2 separate regions of the Homo sapiens genome follow, and region 2 is linked to region 1. Evidence: promoter capture Hi-C in human tissues and cell types (Jung and others, 2019). All regions are on one chromosome and are shown on one strand. Each heading gives the region's core, a stretch centred on a gene start or on the middle of the fragment in contact. The rest is flanking DNA. Distances are from core to core; before and after follow the strand shown. Region 1 holds the start of HNF4A (hepatocyte nuclear factor 4 alpha). Region 2 has its middle 12 kb from the start of LINC01430.

Region 1 (5,910 bases), core at 2,391-4,890:
GCAGACATGACAGCTGAAGCTGGGACAGCCAGTTTGGGTTATAATGGGGCAAATACAAGGACCAAAGACAACGCAGTGAGGAGGGCAGAGAGGAAGGAAGGCAAGAGAGTGGGATCTGGCTGACATTGATGATCATCATTGTAGCGCTGTTTTAAGCCCATCATTTCACTCATCCAACAAATGCTTATTGAGCATTTCTTCTGTGCCAGTCACCATGTGAGACATAGTGAGACAAACAAGGCTGAACAAACTACCCAGGTCCCAGAACTCACGGAGTTTATAGTCTGGTGGGGCAGCCAGACACCACAATTCACACCAGCAACTATCTGATCAGAGCGATGACGAGAACCGCAAAGCCAAAACCAGTGTGCCGTGGAAGCACCGGAAGTCCAGGGAGGGCCAAGTCCACCCAGCATCACCACACCAAAGAGCAGCTCTTTAGAATCCTGCTAAAGCTCAAAAACATGAAACCACAACGAGGATTTCTTGCGTGCTTGCTCTGGACCCAGGACTGTTCTAAGCACTCATGGATCCTTCCATTTGATCCTCACAACAGCCATGTCTTCCTCTGCCTCTAACTGAGGCTCTGCTATGTGCCATGTCCCTGACCCACCAATGCACCTCTACTATAGTCATCTTAGGAGATGATTAATGTTATCCCCATTAGAGAACCCCAGAAGAAGATTTTTTGTTTGTTTTTTGTTTTTTTGTTTTGTTTTGTTTTTTTTGAGATAGAGTCTTGTTCTGCTGCCCAAGCTGGAGTGGCAGTGGCATGATCTCAGCTTAATGCAACCTCTACCTCCCAGGTTCAAGTGAGTCTCATGCCTCAGCCTCCCAAGTAGCTGGAATTACAGGCGTGTGCCATCATACCCGGCTAGTTTTTGTATTTTTAGTAGAGACGGGGTTTTGCCATGTTGGCCAGGCTGGTCTCGAACTCCTAATCTCAAGTTATCTGCCCGCCTCAGCCTCCCAAAGTGCTGGGATTACAGGCGTGAGCCACTGCACCCAGCCTGGGAGAGGGGTTTTGTTTCCTCGGAGCACTTGTTTCTTTTCTCAGAAAGCAAATTTTTCTTTTCTTTTTTTTTTTTTTCTGGAGCCTTCCAGCAGACTTCAGTAGCTCATTTTACAGATAAAACATGTGAAGCTCAGAGAGGGGTAATGATTTGACTCACAAGACCACACAGTTTTTTGTTTTGTTTTTTTTTTTTAAATAAGGTAGATCTAGGATGCTAACCCAGGTGTATTTTATCAAAAATATCAAATCAGGGTCTTTCAGCCACTCTCACACACATACACATAGGCACACATACACTGCAGTGAATGTTCCACTGCCCCAGGACAAAAGTGCTCATTTTTTGTGGATGTACTGCAAGGTCACTGGAGTTCTCCTTTCTCTGTCCAGCCATATCTGTGGCCTAGAGCAGAGGGCCAGCAACAGCTGGATTGTGTCAAGTCTCGAGTCAGATGACATTTTTTGTTTGTTTGTGTTTTTTTTTTAATCTTGAACCTTAGTTTTTTCTTCTGTCCTTGGAGATTACAATATTATTTATCTCAGACAGCCGTTTGGAAAATGAAACAGCTGTCTGAGAGATAATAGTAGAACATTCACTAACCCATTCATCCATCCATTCACCCACCTACCTGTCGATAGAAGCAACCATTCTAATAATTGCTGAATGTTTGCTATATAATGAGTATGACACAGGAGCAGAGATGAAGAGACATGAGGACATCCTACAAGGTGCAGAGACGTGGGAGACAGTGAAAGGCTGTCAGGTTATATTATTGTATCATCCTTTAAGAGACACTGTGGGGCCTTCTGTTCACCCCTAGCTTAGCCTTATGACCTGGGCTGTCCTTCCCCAGAAGCTGTCTGGCCCCTTTGAGAGACAATGTCTTCCCCTAGCCACAGGTTCAACCAAGTCATCCATTGGCATCTATACTCCAGGTCTTAAAATTGTGGATTAAGGGTGGCCTCACCCTTAATCTCCTCTATGCTATCTCCTCTAATCTCCCCGCTCTCTGGGAGATAGGTCCTGTTGTTATCTTCATTTTACAGATGAGGAAATAGGTTCAGAGAGGGGAAATGTCTTGCCCAAGGTCACACAGCTGGTGTGTGGGATGGGTTCCCAGGCTGTTGGTTTCTTCAGCCTCTGCCATTTCCAGTGCATCACATATTCCTGTTTGATGGGGGTCAAAGCAAAGAAGATTCTTCCTGACTAGAGTCAGGAGATCAGGCCCTGATTCTGTCATTCCCTGGCCCTCTGTCCTCAGCAATTGATGACATAAATGTTGATTGTGTCTTTGCAATGCACGTGGTATCAAGGGCTTTACATCCTTGTTCCCCACGGCATCCACCATGATCTTAAGACACATCCTAGTCCTGTCTCCACTTCAGAAAGAAAGCAAGAGGCACGTGAATGTTGAGCCGTGTGACAGAGTCACAACTAGACCCCGAGGTCTGCTGGATTCCAGAGACCAAGTTCTGTGCGGGTGTGTGATTTGAACAGGTTTATAAAAGGCACCCAACTTTTAAAAAATCCAAAATGTGTCCCCAAAAGATAAAACATTCTCTTGAATTTCCCTCCTCAGAAACAAACCTGTCACCAATTTTATTGTGTCATTCCACGAATTTTCTATGCGTGGAATGTACACGTATACGCGTGTGTACATATATACATCTATATCCGTTTCGCTATCAGCAACTACACAGTTCTTCAGTGTACCGTTTTCACTTAATTTAACTGAGAGGTTCTTCCCTGTCACACACAGATGTGCGTTGTTTCCTTGAACAATGGGATAGCATTCCACTGTAAAGACGTCTCACGCTTTATTTACCCGTCTTCCCTCTGCTGAGGGACATTGGGTTGCTTCCAATGTGGGGGTCACCCTAAGGAGTGAGCCTGAGCCTTTCACTCTCAGTAACACATGCTTTCTAGCCCTGCATCTGAGTTTCACACGTCCGCACAAGATATTCTCATTTTCCAACGCTCCACCCTGCGCGGCGCTTTCTACCTCCTCCCCATTATCCAGAGCCAACGGAGGTGCGGAGCGACCGAGCTGCCCGGTCCCACGCCCAGCTTGATAATGCACCAGCAACGTGACCTAGGCCCAGCAAGCCTCTCCTGGTGGACCTCAATTTGCCCCGCATCGAAACAGGACGGTGCTTCCAAGCCCCACCCTCTGTGGGGTTTTGGAAAGACCCCTGAGATGCATTCCCAGGAAGGCCTCTGGACAGACAAAATGAGCCAAGCCTCTGCCCCAGGGCTTCTCGGCCCCTCCCAGCACTTCTCGCACCAAGCAGGCCATGCCCCGGCTTGAGAGCTTAGGGAAGCGGTCACATTGCCTCCGTGGGGCTTCCTGCCCTTCCAGAGGAGCTCCAGGAGGAGCTTTGGGCCCGTAAGAAACACACGGGGAGGTGTCCCATGGCCTCCCAAAGCTGACCGCAGTCCCGCCCTGTCCAGTCTTCCCCCAGCCCCACTTACCGTAAGAACTCTCCACTGGAGCCCCGAGGGGCGCGTTCACGCTGACCATGGCCAAGCCCACCCAGCCGGAGAGCTGGGGGCATGGAGGAGCAGGGGCCCGCTCACAGCAGCAGCACAGCCACCAGGAGCCCGTCCACCAGGAAGGCGGTGAGTGCGGCCAGCTGCCACCGCCCGGTTATCTTATTGATTCTTCTAATCACCCAAGGTGGGTGGATACGTTAAAGAGTAACCAGTCACTTAGGGAACCCGCGGCTGGGGACTGTTGCTGTCTCCATGGCAATGGCGACCTGGCCAGACCTGAGGTCCACTCGGGTCCTAGTCCTGCACTCTGGGGTTAGGGGAACCCAGAGCCAGGTGTATGGGGACATCAGCCCCCCAATTTGAGGACAGGGCCGGAGCAGAAGGGGCTGGAGAGGTGAGAGTCCAACCTGGGTTGGGTTTTATGGCTCCAAACTATGGGTGTGTCACCATGCAGGAAGTAGTGGGAAAACCGAGGGAGGGGCAGAGGAAAAAAGGAGGGTGGAGAACTGTGTTTAGTGAGTGCCTACTGGATGCTGGGAGTTGCATACAGGCGTTACCATATTTAAATTAAACCTTGAGATGAAGGGACTGAAGGACAGAGAGAAATTGCATGCCTGGAGTCTCACTGCTAGTACATAGAGGTGTTATCTTCCTTTCATCTAACATATTTATTGAGCACCTACTATGTACCAGGCCTTGTGCTAGACTCTGGGGATATGGAAATGAGCAAAGTAGATGTACCCCCGAAACTTGTGGACTAATGGAGGAGACGGACCTTAATCAGATCGTCATTCAAAGATACTATTACAAACTGGTGAGTGATATGAGGGGTGGAGAAACATGGGGCTGCCTCCAGGCCAATGGGACAAAGTCATCCTGTCTGGCGTCTCCTCTGGTCTCCTTCCCCATTCTAAATTCAACCTGCTGCTGAAACTCACACACTCTGTTTTAGCTCCCTGGCATGTTAGACACCTGCCACCTAGCTTTTTTTTTGGAACAGCCCCGTTTCTTTTGTCTCAGTTTTGGATCTCACCACCTGCTTGGGGATTCTGAAATCAAGGTCATTCATCCTGTTAGAGAGAGCTGAAATGAGAACAGTGAAACAAATTCTGGACTCAGAAAAATCAGAAAACTCCAGCTCTATTATTTTCTTGCTGTATGTTTTTTAGTAAATTATTTCATTTCCTTATAGGAATACCTAGCTCATAGTTTGCCCTGCTTCTAAAATAGCTAATTGATAATATTCCTCTTCTCTTCCCATAGTCTCTTTTTTCAGCTTTATCAATCACCTCAGAGGGACCTTCAGCCCCTACAGATGGGCATGGGTTGCATTAAAATGTCCTTTCTTTTCTAAAACAACAGTGATAACAAACGTTAGATTTTGGGGCCGGGTGCAGTGGCTCACGCCTGTAACCCCAGCATTTTGGGAGGCCGAGGCGCACCGATCACGAGGTCAGGAGTTTGAGGCCAGCCTGACCAACATGGTGAAACCCCGTCTCTACCAAAAATAAAAAAATTAGCCGGGCATGGTGGCAAACGGGAGGCTGAGGCAAGAGAATCGTTTGAACCAGGGGGACAGAGGTTGCAGTGAGCCAAGATCGTGCCACTGCACTCCAGCCTGGGCAACAGAGAGAGACTCCATCTCAAAATAAATAAATAAATAAATAAATAAATAAATAAATAAATAACTTCGATATTTTTTAAAAAAAAGTATTAATATTCTTGGTCGGGTGTAGTGGCTCATGCCTGTAATCCCAGCAGTTTGGGAGGCTGAGGCAGGTGGATCACTTGAGGTCAGGAGTTTGAGACCAGGCTGGCCAACACGGTGTAATCCCATCTCTACTAAAAATACAAAAATTAGCTGGGTGTGGCAGCGAGCACCTGTAATCTCAGCTACTCGGGAGGCTGAAGGAGGAGAATCGTTTCAACCTAGGAGGCAAATGTTGCAGTGAGCCAAGATTGCACTACTGCACTGCAGCCTTGGCGACAGAGCCAGACTCCATCTCAGAAAAAAAAAAAGTATTAATATTTTTATATGGGGGTGGGGGAGGTTTGCTAACCCTATGTCAATTTCCCAAAATGTTCTGGAGATTTAAGTGGTACGTAACCCCCTGCATGAAGTGGCGTCATGAGGTCACATAACTACGAAGGAGCCAACACAGAACTGGAATTCAGCATCATCTGACCCCAAAGCCCGTGCTATTTCAACAGGTCTCACATTGCCTTCCTGAGCACCAGGATAATGAGGATGACAACCACTGGCATTTATGAACTCTTTAGTTTGTCAGCATTGTATATTCTTAACGTCATTGAATTGTCACTGTCAATATTCCCATTTTACAGATGTAAAAACTGGGATTCAAGAAGTTTCATTAAATCTGTTCTTTTTTTTTTTTTTTTTTTT
Region 2 (5,910 bases), core at 1,327-3,826, 83 kb before region 1:
TTCTCCAGAACATCACAGAGATGGAATCATATAGTATGTAGTCTTCTGAGCCTGGCTTCTTTCACCTAGTGTTATGAGTTTGAGTTCCATGGTTTTCTTTTTTTTCTTTTTTGAGACTAAGTCTCCCTCTGTCGCCTAGCCTGGAGTGCGGTGGCTCGATCTTAGCTCACTGCAACCTCCGCCTCCAGGGTTCAAGCAATTCTTCTGCTTCAGCCTCCTGAGTAGCTGGGATTACAGGCATGTGCCACCACACCCAGCTTATTTTTGTGTTTTTAATAGAGATGGGGTTTCACCATGTTGGCCAGGCTGGTCTTGACCTCTTGACCTCAAATGATCCACCCCCTCCTCCGCCTCCCGAAGTGCTAGGAATAGAGCCACCACGACTGGGCCCATGTTGTTTGTATCAGTAGTTCTCTTCTTTTTATTGCTGAGCAATCTTCCTATTGACTTTTTTTTCTTCAATAGAGACAGGGTCTTGCTCTATCATCTAGGCTAAAGTGCAGTGGTTTGATCATGGCTCACTGCAACCTCAAACTTTTGGGCTTAAACAATTCTCCTGCCTCAGCCTCCAGAGGAGCTGGGACTACAGGCATGTGCCAGCACACCTACCTTTTTTTTTTTTTTTAATTTTTTGTAGAGACGGGGGTTTTGCTGTGTTGCCGATGCTGGTCTCGAACTCCTGGCCTCAAGGGATTCTCCCTTTTTCGCCTCCCAAAGCTCTGGGATTACAGGAGTGAGCACCATGCTCAGCCCAGTTGATTATTAAACTTCTCATCTATGCTTATGACTTAGACTCTTTATCTCTAGCCCCAACTTTTCCCCAAGCTCTAGACTCATATATCCAACAAGTCCCTGGATGTTTAATTGGGATCTCAAACAGCACATCCAAAACCAAGCTCTTATTTTCTAACCCAAATTTGCAGCTCCTCCAGTCTTCCTCTGTCAACAGACAGCACCACCTGGCCACAGTTACTTTCCTTCACATACCTTAGTAAGTTCTTGGCTGTTCTACTTCCAGAACACTCCACTCTGACCGCCTCTCACCACCACCACCTGTATTCATTTTCTATTGCTGCATAACAAATTGCCACAAATGCAGATGCTTAAAACACTGCCCATTTGTCAGCTGGGCACAGTGGCTCACGCCTGTAATCCCAGCACTTTGGGAGTCCGAGGTGGGCAGATTACCTGAGGTCAAGAGTTCGAGACCAGCCTGGCCAACACGGTGAAACCCCATCTCCATTAAAAATACAAAATTAGCTGGGCGTGGTGGTGCATGCCTGTAATCCCAGCTACTTGGGAGGCTGAGGCAGGAGAATCACTTGAACCTGGGAGGTGGAGGTTGCAGTGAACCAAGATCACATCATTGCACTCCAGCCTGGGCAAAAAGAGCGAAACTCTGTTTCCAAAGAAAAGAAAAGAAAACGCTGCCCATTTGTGATCTCACAGGTCTATAGTCCAGCAGTCCAGATGTGGTGTGATTGGGTCTCCTGCTCGGGTTCTTAAACGACTGGGCTGTGTACCTACCTGAGGGCTCTAGGAAAGGATCCAAGCTCATTCATGTTGTTGCCTGCATTCAGTTCCTCATGGTCGTTGGACTGTCACCCTGTCACCATTTTCTTGCTGGTTGTCAGCCAGGGGTCTCTCAGTTTCTAGAGGCCACTTGCATCCCTTGCCAAGTGGCCCCCTTGTCTTCAAAGCCAGCAACAGAGACTCTCCCTTATGTGGAATCACATTTCTAATTTCTCACGTTTCTAATTCTCATGTTTCTAATTTCATAGAAAGAGTTCAGCTCCCTTTATGGCCTCACCTGATTAGGCCAGGCCCACCAAAGAATATCTCTCTATCAAAAAGTCAGCTGGTTTGGGACTTAAATTACATCTGCAAAATCTCTTCACAGGAACACCTAGATTCATGTCTAATTGGATAACTGAAAGAAGGTGTGTATGCACCAAAGGCAGGCGTCTTGGGGGGCATTTAAAAAATTCTGCCCACTCCACAACCCTAGTCCATGCTGCCATCATCTTTCACCTGGACCACTGCCCAGGCCACCTGTGGGCGTCTCTGCTTCCACTGTTTTTCCACATAGTCCATTATCTATACAGCAGAGAGTGGCCTTTTAAGAACATCAAGCAGATCATATCACTTCTCTATTCAAAAATGAAGAGCTTCCTACTATACCAACAAGAAAATCCAGAATCTTTCTCGTGGCCTAGAAGGCTACCTCTGGTCTCACCCCTGCCTACCTCTCAGACTCAGAAAAATGTTCAACAGATAGACACTCACTAAATATTTGTTGAATGAACGAATGAATGAATGAATGAATGAAAGTCTCTTGGATTGGTGCTTTTCTCTACTCCACTGCCACCATCTTGTTGTAGACATCACTACCTCTCACCTGATCCAGTGCACTTGTGTCTTCATTGGTCTCCCAGCTTACAGTTGCACCTCTTCGTCTGCCACAAAGCAGCCAGGGTGTTGTTTTAAAGATACAGATCTGGCCAGGTGCAGTGGCTCACACCTGTAATTCCAACACTTTGTGAGGCCGAGGCGGGTGGACTGCTTGAGCTCAGGAGTTCAAGACAAGCCTGGACAGCATGGCAAGACCCCGTCTCTACTAAAAATACAAAAAAATAGTTGTTGGTGCCTGTGGTCCCAGCTATTCAGGAAGCTGAGGTAGGAGGATCACTTGAGCCCAGGGGGCAGAGGTTGCAGTGGGCTGTGATTGCGCCACTGCACTCCAGCCTGGGTGACAGAGGGAGACCCTGTCTCAAAAAAAAAAAAATATATATATATACACACACACATATATGTATAAATATATATATATACATATGTATAAGTATATAAACATACATACACACATATGTATATAAGTATGTTTACATACGCACATATGTATATATGTATGTAAACATACATACATATATAATATATATAATACATAAACATATATAAATATATAATATATAAACATATATAATATATAAATATATAATATATAAACATATATAATATATAAATATATAATATATAAACATATATAATATATAAATATATAATATATAAACATAATATATAAATATATAATATATAAACATATAATATATAAATATATAATATATAAACATATAATATATAAATATATAATATATAAACATATAATATATAAATATATAATATATAAACATATAATATATAAATATATAATATATAAACATATAATATATAAATATATAATATATAAACATATAATATATAAACATATATAATATATAAACATATAATATATAAACATATATAATATATAAACATATAATATATAAACATATATAATATATCAAATATATAATATACAAATATATAATATATAAATATATATAAATATATAATATATAAATATATAAAATATACATAAAATATATAATATATAAATATATAAAAATATATATAAAATATATAATATATAGATATATAAAAATATATATAAAATATATAATATAAAATATATATAATATAAAAATATATAATATAAAATATATAAATATATAATATATAATATATATAAATATATGTATCTTTATATACATATATACAGATCTGCCTACAACCTTCACTGCTCTCAAACCTCCAGTGGGCCGGGCGTGGCGGCTCATGCCTGTAATCCTAGCATATTGGGAGGCCAAGGCGGGTGGATCACTTGAGGTCAGGGGTTGGAAACCAGCCTGGCCAACATGGCGAAACCCCATCTCTACTAAAAATACAAAAATTATCTGGGTGTGGTTGCATGCTCCTGTAATCTCAGCTACTTGGGAGGCTGAGGCAGGAGACTTGCTAGAACCTGGGAGATAGAGATTGCAGCGAGCCAAGATCGCGCCATTGCACTCCAGCCTGGGTGACAGAGCGAGAACCCCTCTCAAAAAACAAACAGAAACCTCTAGTGGCTTCCTTTTCCCCGGAAGAAATTCCATACTCCTCTGTCCAGTATTTGAGGTCCCCACCACTTGTGTGCGGGCCAGCTGTCCTAGTGAGTGAGCTTCCAGAAGTGGATGAGGGCTTCCAGTGGAACTGGGGGAAGTTTTAGAAACATACTGGAAGGTATTAAGTGATATTGTCCCCAAAGTCTGTCCTTTACAGGCCTTTTCTGAAAGCTTTAAGGAGAAAGTCTCCATTGGGTACGTGTATGCCCGTAACATCTCTGTAATATTTGTCAGTTTTCCTTTTTAATACGAAAACAAGAGCAGAGCTTTCCCTGGGGCGATTCCACCTGGCTGCAGCTGAAAAACATTGTTTTCTTTTCACTAATTTTGCAGTCACCTCTTATTTACGGCAAATGATGCTGGTTTCCTATTTATGTCAGTGACCTGAAGTTTAAGGGGAATCATGTTGAACTGATTTAATGAAAAATAAGTAATGGAAGTTACAGCGGTCCTTGGGCATGGAGAGGTCAAGGTGGCCTGTGCACGAAGGTTGGAAAATGCCAGCCCTCGTCTTGCCCCCATGCACAGAGTTCCCGCTGCCTCCTCCCACTTGCTGCTCAGTCCTCAGCCTCGAGCGCACTTCTGTCTTGCCTCATTATTGCCTCTGAATCGTCCCTCAAAGCATACACCACTCCCTGAGTGCAGTCGCCTCTCCCTCCCTACCACCTCACCAGCTGTCACGTTCACCCCTTTGGCTCTTAACTGCTTCTAATTTTCGCCTGTCCATATGAAAACTGAAAGCTCTGGGAGGGAGGCGCCTCACGCTATTGCTTCTCCATAATCCCAGGGTTCCCGGCACAGGGCTCTGCCCATCAACATTTGTCATGAGATGAGCTTTCCACCATTCACACTACTTCTGTGCCCACCACGCAGTGATGGAGTCACCAGTGTCTTCCTCGAGGCCTCATATTGGCCCCTGGAGTCAGACAATGAGCATCAGATCAGCGGCCACACCAGGTATGGATTGGTGACCAGCTGTGTGTGGACCTTGGGCAAGTCCCTTCCTCTCTCCTCCTGAGCCTGTTTCCTCTTTGTTGTTGTTGTTGTTGTGGCAGGGTCTCAAGCTTTTGCCCACGCTGGAGTGCAGTGGCATGATCTCGGCTCACTGGAACCTCTGTCTCCCGGGTTCAAGCGATTCTGCTGCCTCAGCCTCCCGAGTAGTCGGGACTACTGGCACATGCCACCACGCCTGGCTGGTTTTTTTTTTTTGTTGTATTTTTAATGGAGATGAGGTTTCACCACGTTGGCCAGGCTGGTCTCAAACTCTTGACCTCAGGTGATCCACCTGCCTCAGCCTCCCAAAGTGCTGAGATTACAGGCGTGATCCACCATGACCGGTCTTGTTTCCTCATTTGTGAAACAGAACCACAAGAATGACAGCCTCAGAGGTTGTTGTGGGAATTAAATTATGTCCAGCCATGTTTGGCAAAGAGGAAGAGCCCAGTAAATGTCCTTGGCATCATGATTTGGTGTCTAACTCCACCATTGTCAAACAGCTGCCTGGGATCCTGTGATTCAGGCCTCTGAGATCACATCCTGGAATTTACATATGATACGTGGATTTGAGAAGTGTAGCTCAAAGGTTATCTGGGTTCCACAAATGAGGAAGTAGGACGATTTCACCAATTTGGGATGACAGGCCATTCACACTGCATGAAACTTTCTTTGGATCTTCAAGCAGCCTGTCACCCAGGGTCCCTTCTACTTCTGGTCCCCACTCTGAGCAATGATGGAATGATGGAATAAGAAGCTTCTAGTAGCATGGCTTGGGGAAACAACTTTTCAGAGGTGCTAAAAAGAAGTCAGCCTGGGCAACATAGCAAGACCTCATCTTTACTAAAAATAAAAGAAAAAAATAGCCAGGTGTGCTGGCACACTGTACCCCAGCTACTCAAAAGGCTGAGGCAGGAGGATTGCTTGAACTCTGGAG

What was found. Contacts are between HindIII fragments. The study calls those that stand out against the background at their distance.
Region 2: a fragment that was not itself captured here is called in contact with the fragment with the promoter of HNF4A in region 1 in 3 of the 25 tissues and cell types used here (heart right ventricle, hippocampus and pancreas).

The regions. Positions count from the first base shown.
Region 1 is chr20:44,353,429-44,359,338 of GRCh38, reverse strand. It overlaps HNF4A (hepatocyte nuclear factor 4 alpha), which reads right to left and starts at 3,640. Exons shown (of 10, transcript NM_175914.5): 1 at 3,486-3,640. The coding sequence starts at 3,534. It overlaps R3HDML-AS1 (R3HDML antisense RNA 1), which reads left to right and starts at 4,097. Exons shown (of 4, transcript NR_184036.1): 1 at 4,097-4,320. HNF4A-AS1 (HNF4A antisense RNA 1) reads left to right here. Exons shown (of 3, transcript NR_172878.1): 3 at 1-2,595. RefSeq lists an enhancer at 5,809-5,910. The HindIII fragment of the contact is 37,265 bases long and covers 1-5,910 here.
Region 2 is chr20:44,435,423-44,441,332 of GRCh38, reverse strand. No RefSeq gene overlaps it. Among named protein-coding and RNA genes, the nearest start is that of LINC01430, 12 kb to the left of the region's middle. The HindIII fragment of the contact is 6,695 bases long and covers 1-5,910 here.